Regions from separate parts of the Homo sapiens genome. Here region 2 is linked to region 1. Evidence: promoter capture Hi-C in 16 types of primary human blood cells and fetal thymus (Javierre and others, 2016). All regions are on one chromosome and are shown on one strand. Each heading gives the region's core, a stretch centred on a gene start or on the middle of the fragment in contact. The rest is flanking DNA. Distances are from core to core; before and after follow the strand shown.

What was found. The method cuts DNA at HindIII sites, captures the fragments that hold promoters and counts their contacts. A CHiCAGO score of 5 or more calls a contact.
Region 2: a fragment that was not itself captured here is called in contact with the fragment with the promoter of PRPF18 in region 1 in 1 of 17 cell types (total B cells); the score reaches 5.0 in total B cells.

Annotation. Positions count from the first base shown.
Region 1 is chr10:13,584,806-13,591,571 of GRCh38, forward strand. PRPF18 (pre-mRNA processing factor 18) reads left to right here and starts at 2,160. Exons shown (of 10, transcript NM_003675.4): 1 at 2,160-2,347. The coding sequence starts at 2,282. It also overlaps the pseudogene RPL6P24. RefSeq lists enhancers at 2,115-2,454, 2,630-3,225. The HindIII fragment of the contact is 3,512 bases long and covers 512-4,023 here.
Region 2 is chr10:14,187,381-14,194,037 of GRCh38, forward strand. All of the region lies in intron 2 of FRMD4A (FERM domain containing 4A), which reads right to left. Among named protein-coding and RNA genes, the nearest start is that of FRMD4A-AS3, 120 kb to the left of the region's middle. The HindIII fragment of the contact is 1,756 bases long and covers 1,574-3,329 here.

The DNA of each region.
Region 1 (6,766 bases), core at 910-3,409:
TGCTGGGATTACAAGTGTGAGCCTCTGTACCCAGTCCCAATATTTCACTTTTTAAATAATGATTGTGATGAAATGGGATGCATGTTTTTTTAAATGAATATGGTCTCTCTTAGGGTCACGGCGATTTGTTCTTTTAAGTGTTTCTTTTCTTTTCTTTTTTTTTTTTTTTTTTTTTTTTGAGACAGAGTCTTGCCCTGTCACCCAGGCTGGAGTGCAGTGGCGCGATCTTGGCTCACTGCAACCTCCGCCTCCCGGGTTAAAGCGATTCTCCTGCCTCAGCCTCCTGAATAGCTGGGACTACAGGTGTGTGCCACCAAGCCCGGCTATTTTTGTAGTAGAGACAGGGTTTCACCATGTTGGCCAGGCTGGTCTCAAACTCCTGACCTCAGCTGATCCGCCTGCCTTGGCCTCCCAAAGTGCTCGGATTGTAGGCGTGAGCCACTGTGCCCGGCCTCTTTTAAGTATTTCTAAAAGCTCCTGGATATCTTTTTTCCTTCCTTTTGAATGGAAAAGCTTGCTTGTCAGTTGCTTGTTCAAGTATTTCTCTCTATCACTCTTTGATCTCAGGCCTTAATCAGGATTCAGTGCACATGTTTACATAAACGTAGAAATCAATGAAAGTCTAAAATGTAAGGGGAGGCTGTTAACTGTAGCTAGTAACTTCTCTGGTTTACACTGACAGTTTCCCAGGTAGCCAGCCGTTGTGTTCTCTGTAAACTTCCATTGCTGTTACTGTCATCTGTCTTAACCCTTCAGGTTTTTTTTGTGTCTAACAATCCCTAATCCCTAAATCAGGAAAATGCTAATAAATTATTATTTGCTCATTGATTAGTGAGGGAAACCCATATTCATGCAAGAGTGTTGCCATATTTAGTTCAAGGACATTTTCCTGTGTTGGCTTATTTCTGGCAAAAGTCAGGTATATTTTATTTTATTTTGTTTTGTTTTTGAGACAAAGTCTTGCTCTATCACCCAGGCTGGACTGCAGTGGCATGATCCCGGCTCACTGCAACCTCCATCTCCCGGATTCAAGCAATTCTCCTGTCTCAGCCTCCTGAGTAGCTAGGACTATAGGCACCTGCCACCACGCCTGGCTAATTTTTGTATTTTTAGTAGAGACGGGATTTCACCATGCTGGCCAGGCTGGTCTTGAACTCCTGACCTCAGGTGATCTGTCCACCTCGGCCTCCCAAAGTTCTGGGATTACAGGGGTGAGCCACCCCGTCTGGCCTCAGATATCTTTTAGATGAAGTATCACCCCCCACAAAAGACTTTCTAAATTGAAATAATTCAATTGTTCATTTTTTTGTTTTGTAAAGCATTTTACCCATTATCAGCTGACTCAACAAAATGATATTTCTTACCTTTTTTGAGTAAGAAAAACGAAATGTCAAATATTGTTCAATTATGATTTCACAAAAACAATTTTTAAACGTGCTTCAATGACATGAAAAAAATAAGTCCACTGTAAACAAATGTTAGGGACTTAAAAAATCTCTGACATAATTTTTCTCTTCAATTTAACTTTTTTTCCCTTGGGTTGGATTTAAAAAAAAAAAAGGAATTTCTGATTACATCTCCAATCATGTCACTGAAAAATCTTGATTGCTGAACACATGACCAAAAAATGATTAGTTAGCTTGAGGTAAATGTTCAATTATCACCAAGATTGGTAAGCAATCTAAAACAGAGGGAGTGAAGATAAATTGACTTCCAAACTGCTTTAAATGGTTGTAGTCGTTTAAGTTCACAGGAAATTTAACAGGCTAGTAATGAACAGACAGCCCTTTCACTCTATTGTTACAAGTTAGTATTATTGTTTAGATTTTTCTCATCCTTTTGCAAATTTTGCAAGCAAGTAACTTCAGAAACCCTAATGTAAATTTCCAGTTAATAAAGATCTTGATTTAACTGGCATTATTGAGGTGTTCTTCGAGAGGCTTTTGGAACTCAACTAGCAGGTGCAGAGAGTACTACAAAGACCCGGGTTTCCGTCCACGTTCACGTAAACCTCCCTACGAGGGGAAACTACAGGCGCGCTGCCGGAGGGCGCCGCCAGTGGGCACTCACGCACAGCTGCTTTGGCCACCACAGGCGCCCCGGGCCACTCTCTTCCCTCATCTCTCTCATCCCAGCTTCCGCCGGAAGCGGCTCCTGTCAGTTGTTCTCAGGTGTTTGGGCTTGTTGTTCCGTATACTCAGTGGGTTCGCGGCCGCCGGCCCAGTGAGGCTGGGTTCGAGGAGCTGGAGCGGGAAACTGGAGCTTAAATTCTGGCGGCGAGATGGACATTCTGAAATCAGAGATCCTTCGGAAGCGGCAGCTGGTGGAGGACAGGAACCTGCTGGTGGTGAGGACCCTGCGGTCGTGGGGGTCGGGATGTAAGAGTGAGAGTATGTGTGTCGGGGTTTTGGGGTGAGGGTGACGATACTCAGAGGATTCGGGGCGGGGACGGGGCTTAGCGAGTGTCCTGCCACTACCCCTGGTAGGCCCCCTTAGATCCAACCCTTGGCGTCTCACTGTTGAGGCTGGAGAATAGGGTCTGAGAGCAGGGAACTTGAGTACAATTCGTGCTGACTTCCCAAAGCTGGATCAAAAGGAAAACACCTGGGTCTGGGGGCGGGAACCTGAGGCCAATTAACGCCCACGTCCAAAAGCCAAACCAAAAGAAAAATCCTCATCTTCCCACCACCGAGTAGCAAAGGCTTCAGGCTGCGGCTCTCCCCGCATCCCTGCCTTTCCACCACCTCTCAGATGGGAAGGGAACGTGCCCTGCATTGGCCGTGGGCCAATCACGGGCCATCCCTTCATCTGCATAGGGCGCCAGTTCACCTCAGTCTTTAGCCACAGACCGAACCCTTCATCCAGATACGGGGTAGCTGATAGGGACCTCAGAAGGAGTACCTAAAACCCGGAAAACTTTGTAACCGGGGCCTCGAGCCGCTTGCTCGGGCCCACTCACACCCTGTGGAGTGCTTTCTCGCGTTCATAAGTCCCTACTTTTGCTGCTTCATTCCTGTGTTTTGTTACTTTTTTTGTGCGTTTTGTCCAATTCTTTGTTCAAAACGCCAAGGACCCGGGCAACTTACACTCACGGCCTTCTTTCCGGTAACCACTTGGGAGCCTTAGGGATGCAGGTGTGGGAATTGCAGGAAAACCCGAGGCTTTGTTTGTTTTCCCCCGACTGACCCTGTTTCCCTCCAGTTTACCTAACTGCCCCCTATCCCCGCTCCTACCTGTTGGCATTCTGCGGACGTGCCCCAGTGCTCCTGAGAGTTCCCTTCTGTCGCCTTACGAAGGGTTTGTGCCCAACTGAAACATGGAGGAAGGGCCGCCGGGCGCGGTGGCTCACACCTGTAATCCCCACACTTTGGTGGGCAGATCACCTGAGGTCAGGAGTTCGAGACCAGCCTGGCAAACATGGTGAAACCCCGTCTCTACTAAAAACACCAAAATTAGCTGGGCGTGGTGGTGCGCGCCTGTAATCCCAGCTACTCAGGAGGCTGAGGCCAGAGAATCACTTGAACCCGGGAGGCGGAGGTTGCCGTGAGCCGACATCGCACCACTGCACTCCTGCCTGGGCGACAGAGTGAGACACCGTCTCAAAAAAAAAAAAAAATTCCTTCTAGCCAGGTGTGGTGGTGCGCGCGTCTAGTCCCGGCTGCTTGGGAGACCAAGGCGGGAGGATCGCTTGAGCCCAGGAGTTCAGGCTGCAGTGAGCTATCATCGTGCCACTGCACTCCAGCCTGGGTGAGAGACCGAGTCCCTGTCTCTAAAAAAAAAAAAAAAAAAGTAATAAAATTCCTTTCTAATAGTAAATCCCAATTTTTTAAATTCTATTCCTCCTCCTTCTCTCTTCTTCAACACATGAAAAGTCTGTAGGCCTGCTCTTCACTGATGGGAATGCTAAGACTCTTTTGGAAAGGTACTAAAAAGGGGGAGAAAGAATTACATGATTTAGGAACTTCCTGAAGATGATCTCCCTTACTTTATTGTGTAGCAGTAACTTAGACCGCTGGTTCTCAAAGCTTTTGGTCTCAGGACCCCTTCACACTCTTAAAAGTTACTGAAGATCTTGAAGGACTTTTGTTTATGTGTTATTTCTATCCGTATTTACCATATTAGAAGTTAAAACTGAGAAACGTTAAAAATACTCACTGATCGATCATTTGGAAAACATTGGGTTACTGAATTATGCAGGTCTCCCACCTGTTGACACATTTCATTACAAAATATGAAAAGATCACTTCATTTAATATCCACTGATCTGAGAAACATCTGTAAGCATTAGGAAACTGTCAGGCTCCTGATGACAGATCTAAGTTCACCACACTTAATTTCCACTTGGAAGCTGGAATTTTATCATAGGCAACAAATATTATCAGTTATTTTCTTGAAGTGATCTGCTCACTTTGTTCAGTTTGGGGAAGTTGTCTGCCAAATACCCAAGTCTGAAGAACCATGGTTTGCCGGGTGTTCTTAAGTGTAAAAATGGTATTCCGTGAAAAAGCCAGTTTAGCTTGCAACTCAATTACTTTCCTCCACACAACCAGCAAACTTTAGTATAAATGAGAATTGTTGTATGCATCTTTCCTGTTTTGTCACATAATATTAAAAAGATATGGCCAAAGATCAAGACTTAATAAAAATAGTAATTTTACTCCTTTATCATAAGGAGTAAATTTGTTTAGAGAAACTGGCTCCCTCTGGCTGCAGTGGCAGTTTAGAGTCACTGCCTTGGTTCTTGCTAAGGCTTTAGCAAATTTACCATTGCTTTTCACCTACAGTGCAGATGTCATCAGAGTGAGCAGGCAGATAATGCCTTACTGTAGAAAACACTTTTGACCTCATGAGTCCTCTCAGAGGGTCTACAGGACCCATGGAAATCCGTGCATCACAGAATATCTGACTTAGATATTTGGATGTTGTGTACGATTGATGTATGTGATGTAGTGTAAGTAAGTTAGAGTTCTTAGCTTGGTAAATGGCAAATTTCATGATCATTGAAACTTTAAAAACAATTAGAAAAGTGGAGGTAATAGAATGCTGTTTGGTAGGTATGGGGAAAAGCTTGTTCATATTTGTAAATGTTTTTATGTCTACTGCAGGGACCTTTTGATGAGTGGTTGGGAGTATTTTAAATTTAGGTGTTGGAGTGCATAGTGGATGTTAGGAAGGGCCAGGGTGTTGAAATCTAAGTGCTTTAAAGGGAAAAGTGAATCACAAAATATTCAGCCCACCCTCAAGGTTCACAACATGAATATTTGCATAATCATGTTCTTCGTCATTGAAATGCACCAATCTACAAAAATGATCATTAAAAAAAAAACTTTAGATTCTTCAGGGTCATTTATAATTTATAATATATAAACTTTTCCTGGGTGTCTTTCATTTTTTAATTTGGTAGTTGATTGAATTATCACATAATTCCAGCCAGAAGATAAGATTGATTTTTTCAATCACAGAGCAGTTCAGACCAACAAAGGGCGTACATGAAATGGGAATTAAAATACTGACATTCGGCCGGGCGCGGTGGCTCACGCCTGTAATCCCAGCACTTTGGGAGCCTGGGGTGGGCAGATCACGAGATTGAGACCATCCTGGCTAACACGGTGAAACCCCATCTCTACTGAAAATACAAAAAAAAAAAATATATATATATATATATATTAGCTGGGCATGGTGGCAGGTGCCTGTAGTCCCAGCTACTCAGGAGGCTGAGGCAGGAGAATGGCGTGAACCCGGGAGGCGGGGCTTGCAGTGAGCTGATATTGTGCCACTGCACTGCAGCCTGGGCGACAGAGCGAGACTCCATCTCAAAAAAAAAAAAAAAAAATACTGACATTCATAGTTTATATTAGCAGTAATGTTAGGCATCATGCAATATGTGTTTTCTAACTTGTACAACAAGTTGCCATTGTTCCCATTTACAGATGAGGAAACTGGAAGCTAAGAGAAGTTACATGACTATAGGATTATGCAGCTAGCAAGAGATAGAGCCTGGATTTGAACCCTGGTCTGTTCCTACTTCAGAGCCTGATCTGTTAACCTGTACAGATAGAATGGATATTTATTCACCTTACAAACATAGAACTAGTTTTGATAGGGCTAATGTAACAAAGCACTGGAAAATTATTAGACTAACATGATTTATATTTTTCAAAGTGCTATATGCTATCTGATTTGAGCTTTACAACGGTTAATTAGTGCACAAGGCAATGCTGTTTTCATGGATGATGAAATTGAGGCTTAGAGGGTTACACGATGTTCTCATATTCCTGTGGCCAGCCGGGATAGATCTCAAGTCTTAGACCAACTTGAGGGTGAGTGCTCTTGCATGATGTAAGGGAACATACACAACTAGGCGTCTTTTCTGTTGTATCCATGGGAAGACAGTCTTTAGATCTGCAGCTCTATCATTTCATGCAGAATAGTTGCTTTATATTTTTCATCTTTCTGCATCACAGTGTCTGTCAGTAACTTACAGACTTTTTCACTGCCCCGTTCATAGCAATACATTTTTATATATTGATCTGATATGTATGTGAAAAAAGTTTTATGAAATAATTCTTACAACCACAAATGATTTTATCATGTTTTATTCAGTCCTCCTTTTTTGTTATCAGTTATTTAATTAGGTTCTTCTTAAGAAATGTAGAACACCAATTTGTGAGGATAAATTCCATGAGTCGGGGCAAACACAGATCGCAGGTAGTCCTGGAGCTTAGGAATAGCTTTGATTTTTGGTAAAATTTGTGACTCCACAGCT
Region 2 (6,657 bases), core at 1,202-3,701, 600 kb after region 1:
CCTCAACCTTGCTAATCTGATGTTCTTTCTTTTTCAACATACTGTTGGCTATATATGTCCTTTGTAAATAAAGGAACAGAGCCATTATCGTGGAATGACTGACTTAGAGAACGCTCCATGGACATTTGCTTCGACCTATATCCCATGCCTTTCTCCATTTACCCCCAAATTGACATAGAAAAAGATCAGCCAGATACAGTGGCTGGGAGGGCAACATAGTGAGACCCCGTCCCTACGAAAAATCAAAAAATAAGCTGAGCACCAGTGGCATGCGCCTGTGGTCCCAGCAACTTGGGAGGCTGGGGTGGGAGGATCGCCTGAGCCTGGGAGGTTAAGGCAGCAATGAGCAGAATGCTGTCACAGAGAAGGAACTCAATAAATACTTGGTAAAATATTTATTTTGGGGGTTAGAAGTAGACTTGGGAAATTTGGTTTTCTTTGATTCCATATTTCACTAGGGGGAAATAAAGATGTAAAACAGAGACATAAAACATGCCATTAGCTTTATGGGCCTTGGGACAGTGGGGTTCCCAGTTTTCCCGGGAGATGACGATGGAATGCATTCAGGCAGCTCCCACAATACAATTTTCCCATCTCTAGTGTCCTATTGGGAAGGTATCTCCACCTCCTTGTAGCCTCTCCATGCTGAATACACTTAAAACTCTAACCTCCTTTCCCCCAAAGGAGCTCCTTCCTTAGACTCTCCAGGTGCTGTCCTTGATGCTAATCTTTCTTCTGGTCAGCCTTTTGTTTTTCATGTAAAAATGACTTATTTCATTACTTACTGGACCTTTTCCACAAAATGCCTGGAATCAAATAAAAAATGACTGGATTCTCAAGTCAACCTTTCTGGACGCCTGCCTCTCCCCCTGTGCCAAGGACCCATGACCTGCTTGCTGCCTGGGCTCTTTGTGTGGTTTGGTTGCTTTTCTCAGACTTGAATGCTTCCCACTGAAATCCTACAATTGGGCACATAGCACTCCCTATTGAAAATGTATAATAGCTTCTCATTATACAAGCTCTTCACTTTGGCTTTTAGAATCATGTGCCGTCTCCTTTCCTATTTGCCTCCCGCCTGCCAAACTCATTATCCAATCATTCCCTCTTCAATCAGTCCCACCTTTCTACCTTTAGGTCCTTTTCCAGAATCCAAACTTTAATCAAAGAGATAAAGCAGGCCAAGACCCAATGTCCATTACTTAATAAGCCCTCAATAGACATTAGCTTTCTTCAAAGTCCTCATCAACTCCTTTCCTTGGCTGCGCACAGTAGCTCAGACTTTGAGAGGCTGAGGTGGAAGGCTCACTTAAGCCCAGGAGTTTGAGACAAACCTGGGCAACATAGTGAGACCCCGTCCCTACGAAAAATCAAAAAATTAGCTGAGCACCAGTGGCATGCGCCTGTGGTCCCAGTAACTTGGGAGGCTGGGGTGGGAGGATCGCCTGAGCCTGGGAGGTTAAGGCAGCAATGAGCGGTGATTGCAGCACTGACCTCCAGTCTGGGCAACGGAGCGAGGTTTTGTCTCAAAAACAAAACCAAACAAAATCCCGCCCAAAACAACTCCTTTCTGGGAAGCTTTCCCTGAGCAACCCAGCTCACCTCTGTTTGTCTTCACTGCCTGTTTGACATTTAGCTTAAGTTACCTTGTGCTGTTATCTTTTAACCCTGATCTGTATTTTAACCCTCAAGCACAAGGTCTCATGGCTGTGTATTTCCACCTCTGTGTATGGTGTCCTATAGACAGTGAGAGCTTAACATCTCGCGTCAGTGATGATGCTGCAGCATTGCTACGATGTCACCCTTAGCTCCAAACATGCCTACATCATTGGCAAACCTTTGAAATCCCAATAGCAAAATGCCAGAAATGCAAGAATTTGAGGTGGAAAAAGGGGTAAGAGGAGGAAGAGAATGGGCCCGGCGCGGTTGCTCACGCCTGTAATCCCAGCACTTTGGGAGGCAGAGGTGGGTGGATCACCTGAGGTCAGGAGTTCAAGACCAGCCTGACCAATATGATGAAACCTGGTCTCTACTAAAAATACAAAAAATAGTCAGGTGTGGTGGCGGGCACCTGTAATCCCAGCTACTCGGGAGGCTGAGACAGGAGAATTGCTAGAACCTGGGAGGCGGAGGTTGCAGTGAGCTGAGATTGCACCATTGCACTCCAGCCTGGGCAACAAGAGTGAAACTCCATTTCAAAAAAGAAAAAAGAGGAGGAAGATAATGAATATTTACAGACTGCCTTCTCTGTACCAAGTAACATTCTTTGTTCTTGTATAAATATCCTCTCCTATAAAGAAAAAAATAAACAAAAAGAGGGAATTGATTCAGTCAGGGTAACAGATGTTAGTGTCATCACTTAGGACTAGAGCCCATAAACTTCTGACTGCCACTGAAAAACAGCCAATGTCAAGGTGAGTTTAGACAGATCTTAACTCAGCCTGATGCTCATTAATGAGAACAATGGCAAAAGTGTTGGGAATTTGAGTCGGCCTCAGTAGGAAAATCCTTATAAATTTAATGAGAGCTCAGGAGAGATTTCTATCTATCTTAATTATGCTTGCAAACTTCATAGGGCGCTCTCTGACTCTAGGCTAAAACATGAAGCACCTTGATACCTCTAATACATAAGCCTAAGGCAGTAAATCAGGTTCTCCCCACACGTACACCACTTTCCAAAATATATTTGACAAAACTTGTCTAAATGTCTCATAGACACTACCCTTTGACTAAGAAAACGGTTTTGGTTATCACTCCCATTTTACAGACAGAAAAACTGTGGAACAGATTCTGATGCAACAGTATGCCCTCGCCCTAGCAGACGAGTTTGTTGCTCATCCTGAAGTGAAAACAGTAGTTTCTTCACAGCAAATGACCACCCCTCTCATGTTGGTAGTTCTACCATTTTCAAGACAACTGTATTACCAGAAAAAAGGGCTCACTGCTGGATGTGCTGGAAGCCGATACTATGACACCGGGTTTTCTGTTTGTTTGTTTTTTGTTCATTTTTTAGAGTCAGGGTCTTGCTCTGTTGCCCAGGCTGGAGTGCAGTGGTGCCATCATAGCTCACTGCAGCCTCAGTCTCCAAGGCTCTAGCGATCCTGCCTCCCGAGTAGCTGAGACCACCTCTGCCTCCCAAGTATTTGAGACCACAGGCACATGCTATCACACCTGGCTAATAAATTTTTTGTAGAGCTGGAGTTTTCTTGTGTTGCCCAGTCTGGCCTCAAATTCCTGGCCTCCAGCAATCCTTCCACCTTGGTCCCCCAAAGTGCTGGGATTACCGGCGTGAGCCCCGGCATCTGTCAACACTGGATTTTTGAGAAAAGAAAAGCTTTATATTGCAAGTCTACTCACAAGGAGACAGGAGTCAAGTTCAAATCTGTCTATCTGTGCTGGCTCCAAGGCAGTATTTTTTAATGGAAAAGTTTCAGGGGGTGGATTTGGGGATAAGCAGGTGACTGATGGAAGGAAGCAGGAAGTCTGGAAAGTCCTTGGGCATGCGCAGTTATCTATTCGTGATGCCTCCTGGGGCTTTGTGTGCAAATTTGGAGGAAGTTAGTGTGAAACATGGGTGGGAATTCAGGCTGTGAGGTCAGCAAGCTGGTTCCGTGCAGACCCCAGTCAGCCATATTGGTTCCAACCAACTTTAGCCAGTTCTTTTATCTCACAGGTGGAGAGAGTTTTAGTGTCGCAGTGAGAGGTTTCTTGTCTTATATGTTAACCTGCACACTCAAGAATTTTTGTTAGTTACTGGTTGTACTCTTGGGGGCATAGTCTCAGTTTCAGCTTTTCAGCAAGTTTTTGCTTTTCTTATGTGTGTTATCCTCTAAGCCCAAGAAGTTAGCCATTGGCTTCTTTAACTCTTTGGGGCATGGTTTCAGTTGGGAATCCCAAACAGAAAGGGTCTTCTGCTTTGAGAGAATTTTATCTAAATGGACACACAACTCATAAAACAACAGTCGTTGAGAGAAAGCAGAGGCTAATGGGGTCAAAGGTGAACAGCCAGTAGAAGTGCCAGCTCCTAAGAGAAAGGATATCAAGGGACAGCCATAGTTTACAAGACCCAGGACCAATCCCAATAAAAGTCCTGTCTCATGACCCCTGGTCTCTCTGTCACTAATTGAGAAATACAATCGACCGCTCCCCTCTGTTTATGCAGTGCATCCAGCATCATGTGACTACACAAGAGAACAAAAAGTAGTATCGGCTGTTGCTATGGAGACTTAAGAACCATGTGAATTGCTATGGCATCATAAAAGCGATATTCCAATCATCAGTCTTTAACTATAGGGCCGTTGAAATCTATCTCATATTTTTAGAATGTGTGACATTTAACACATTGATGAATATTTCCAGCCTCAGAATATATTCCCTGCTTTCATATTTAGATAGGAGTTTTCAGCTCAACTGGCTGTTTTTTTTTTTTCTCTCTCTCTCTCTCTCTCCTGGCAAATGCTTCATCTCCTCATGAGTGATTACAACTCTTTCTATACTTTCCTAGATGTTTCTTCATTCTTGCTTCCTGTTTTTTCTTTATTCTATAATTAAAATTATTTTCTCACTCACTGTCTCCACTTCCACCAGACCACTTTTTCACATCCCCGGTTGACATTTCAACCAGGCTTTAACCTCCACTGGTCTTAACTGACCACACTTTAAGCCAGAGTTGCTAATAATCAACAATTCTGAGCCCCAGCCAAAGGTGCACAGCTACCTCCTTGGTGGTTTTTATCCCTGAAAGTCACCATCCCCTTATCATCCAAGGGAATTCCAATTCACTGACTTTTCTAGGCTTTATATGAAATCATTCTTTTGGATGGAGAATAACATATCTAATTCTCCACTTTTTTCTTTGTAAGAATTGCTAACTGGGTTTTGTGTAGCTGTATACACAGACCATTTTGAATATCAGTGTGTATCCACACACACCTGTTTTGCTTATCTTATTTGGAAGATGTTGAAAGAGATTGATTAACTTGTTTAGAGTAACAGCTCTTATAACCTAATTAGCTTAGAAGCAAAAATGGGAAAGTGTAAATATCAGGAAATATACATTCACATAACAAAACTCTGCTAAAAGAAACCTGTTACAGTGGTGCACTGTTGTGAGATAAATTCCTCCACATTCCTTTTATTCTTGCAGCATCAGCCTCTCCAAATCTTCATGTGTATTAAGAACCTTCTTTTTTTAACCTCTTTCCTTAAGAGAGCTTCAGGATCTCTTGGACTTATGTATTTTCATCTCCTCCTTAAACCTCTCCAAAGAAGAGCCTTCTTGTTCCCTCCACAGTATTATACAATAAGCTCAAGTACATCAGTGAACATGGTATTACCAAGGTGTGATTTTATTCTGTGAGTTTCCAGGAATGAACATCTCCCCTCTAGGTTACTGAATTCTAAAACGTAATGAATTCCTTCAAAGAGTTTTTAAGCATTTTTGCATCAACTTTTTCTTCCAGGGGTCACAAAGGATGATTTATTTATTCACTGTTGCATTTCTAATCACACCAATAGGGTGCAGTTGTCACTGCTGTGTACATAGCAATATGAACTAAATATATTTGCACAGACAGTAATGCCACAAAAAGAAATAAAGAGTAACAGCGTGTATTTGCTGACTCCAACATCAAGGACTGCACTGTTATCCTTGTCAATATCTAGGTCAAGTTAAATACTGTTTTCAGAAATTCTACCCTGGGCCATCCATGGCTAATTTTATTTTTTGTTTGAATGGGATTTCTGGTAATCATGATCTTGGGAAGAACACAGTCTTACTCCTGATGATTTCTAAATACATTAGACTGTCTGTAAACCAATGAACAGTACTTTACCTTGCTTTCTCCCTGATAGGTTGCCTCTTAATTAATCAATCCATCAACTGAGACTAATGCACCAAGTGATGTGCCTCACATCAGGAACTGTGCAATGGAAGCATTAGTGAGCCTTTGCTGATATTTTTACTTAACACTTTCGGGTCCAGAGACCTTGTCTTATTAATCACAAACCAAACTTCCAGAAAACGGAAATGTCACATTTCATTGCTTTTTAATTCTTGGTGTTTTACCACATACATACATACACCCACCCACCCACCCACACACACACACACACAGAGTGTGCAATGGAAACTTGTAGAGTGAATGTAAAAACAGAGGGATGAATTCAGAACAAGACCCCATATGGTTTTTGAAGAACATACAATTTAGTTGGGCAAAGAGGAGACCAGAAATATTCATAAGCAATGAAAGATGGCCTGGAAACCAAGCAAAAAGTTGCAGTAGGGACCAGCAGTGCTGGTCTACAAATTAAAAAAAAAAAAACTACAAATAATATATAATATTATATAACAAATACATATGCCTAGAGATACTGCTTTGATGTTCTATGTCAACTCCAGGCTCCTCTCGCTAAGACACTGGCACACTTCTTAGTTTGATGAGGTTGATGGAAATGCGTTGCTCCTTTCCTAGACTTCTTGGTCCCTAAAAGGTTCTGTGGTGAACACTGATCCATCCCAACCCATGTCCCCTGCTTCTCTGAATTTTTCCTGATTCAAAGTTGATACATACAAACTATGGAAATTCCCTTTCTTTTTTAATTCCATGAAGATCAGACTTTAAGACACAGAATTTCCATGCATTAAATTTACATAACTAG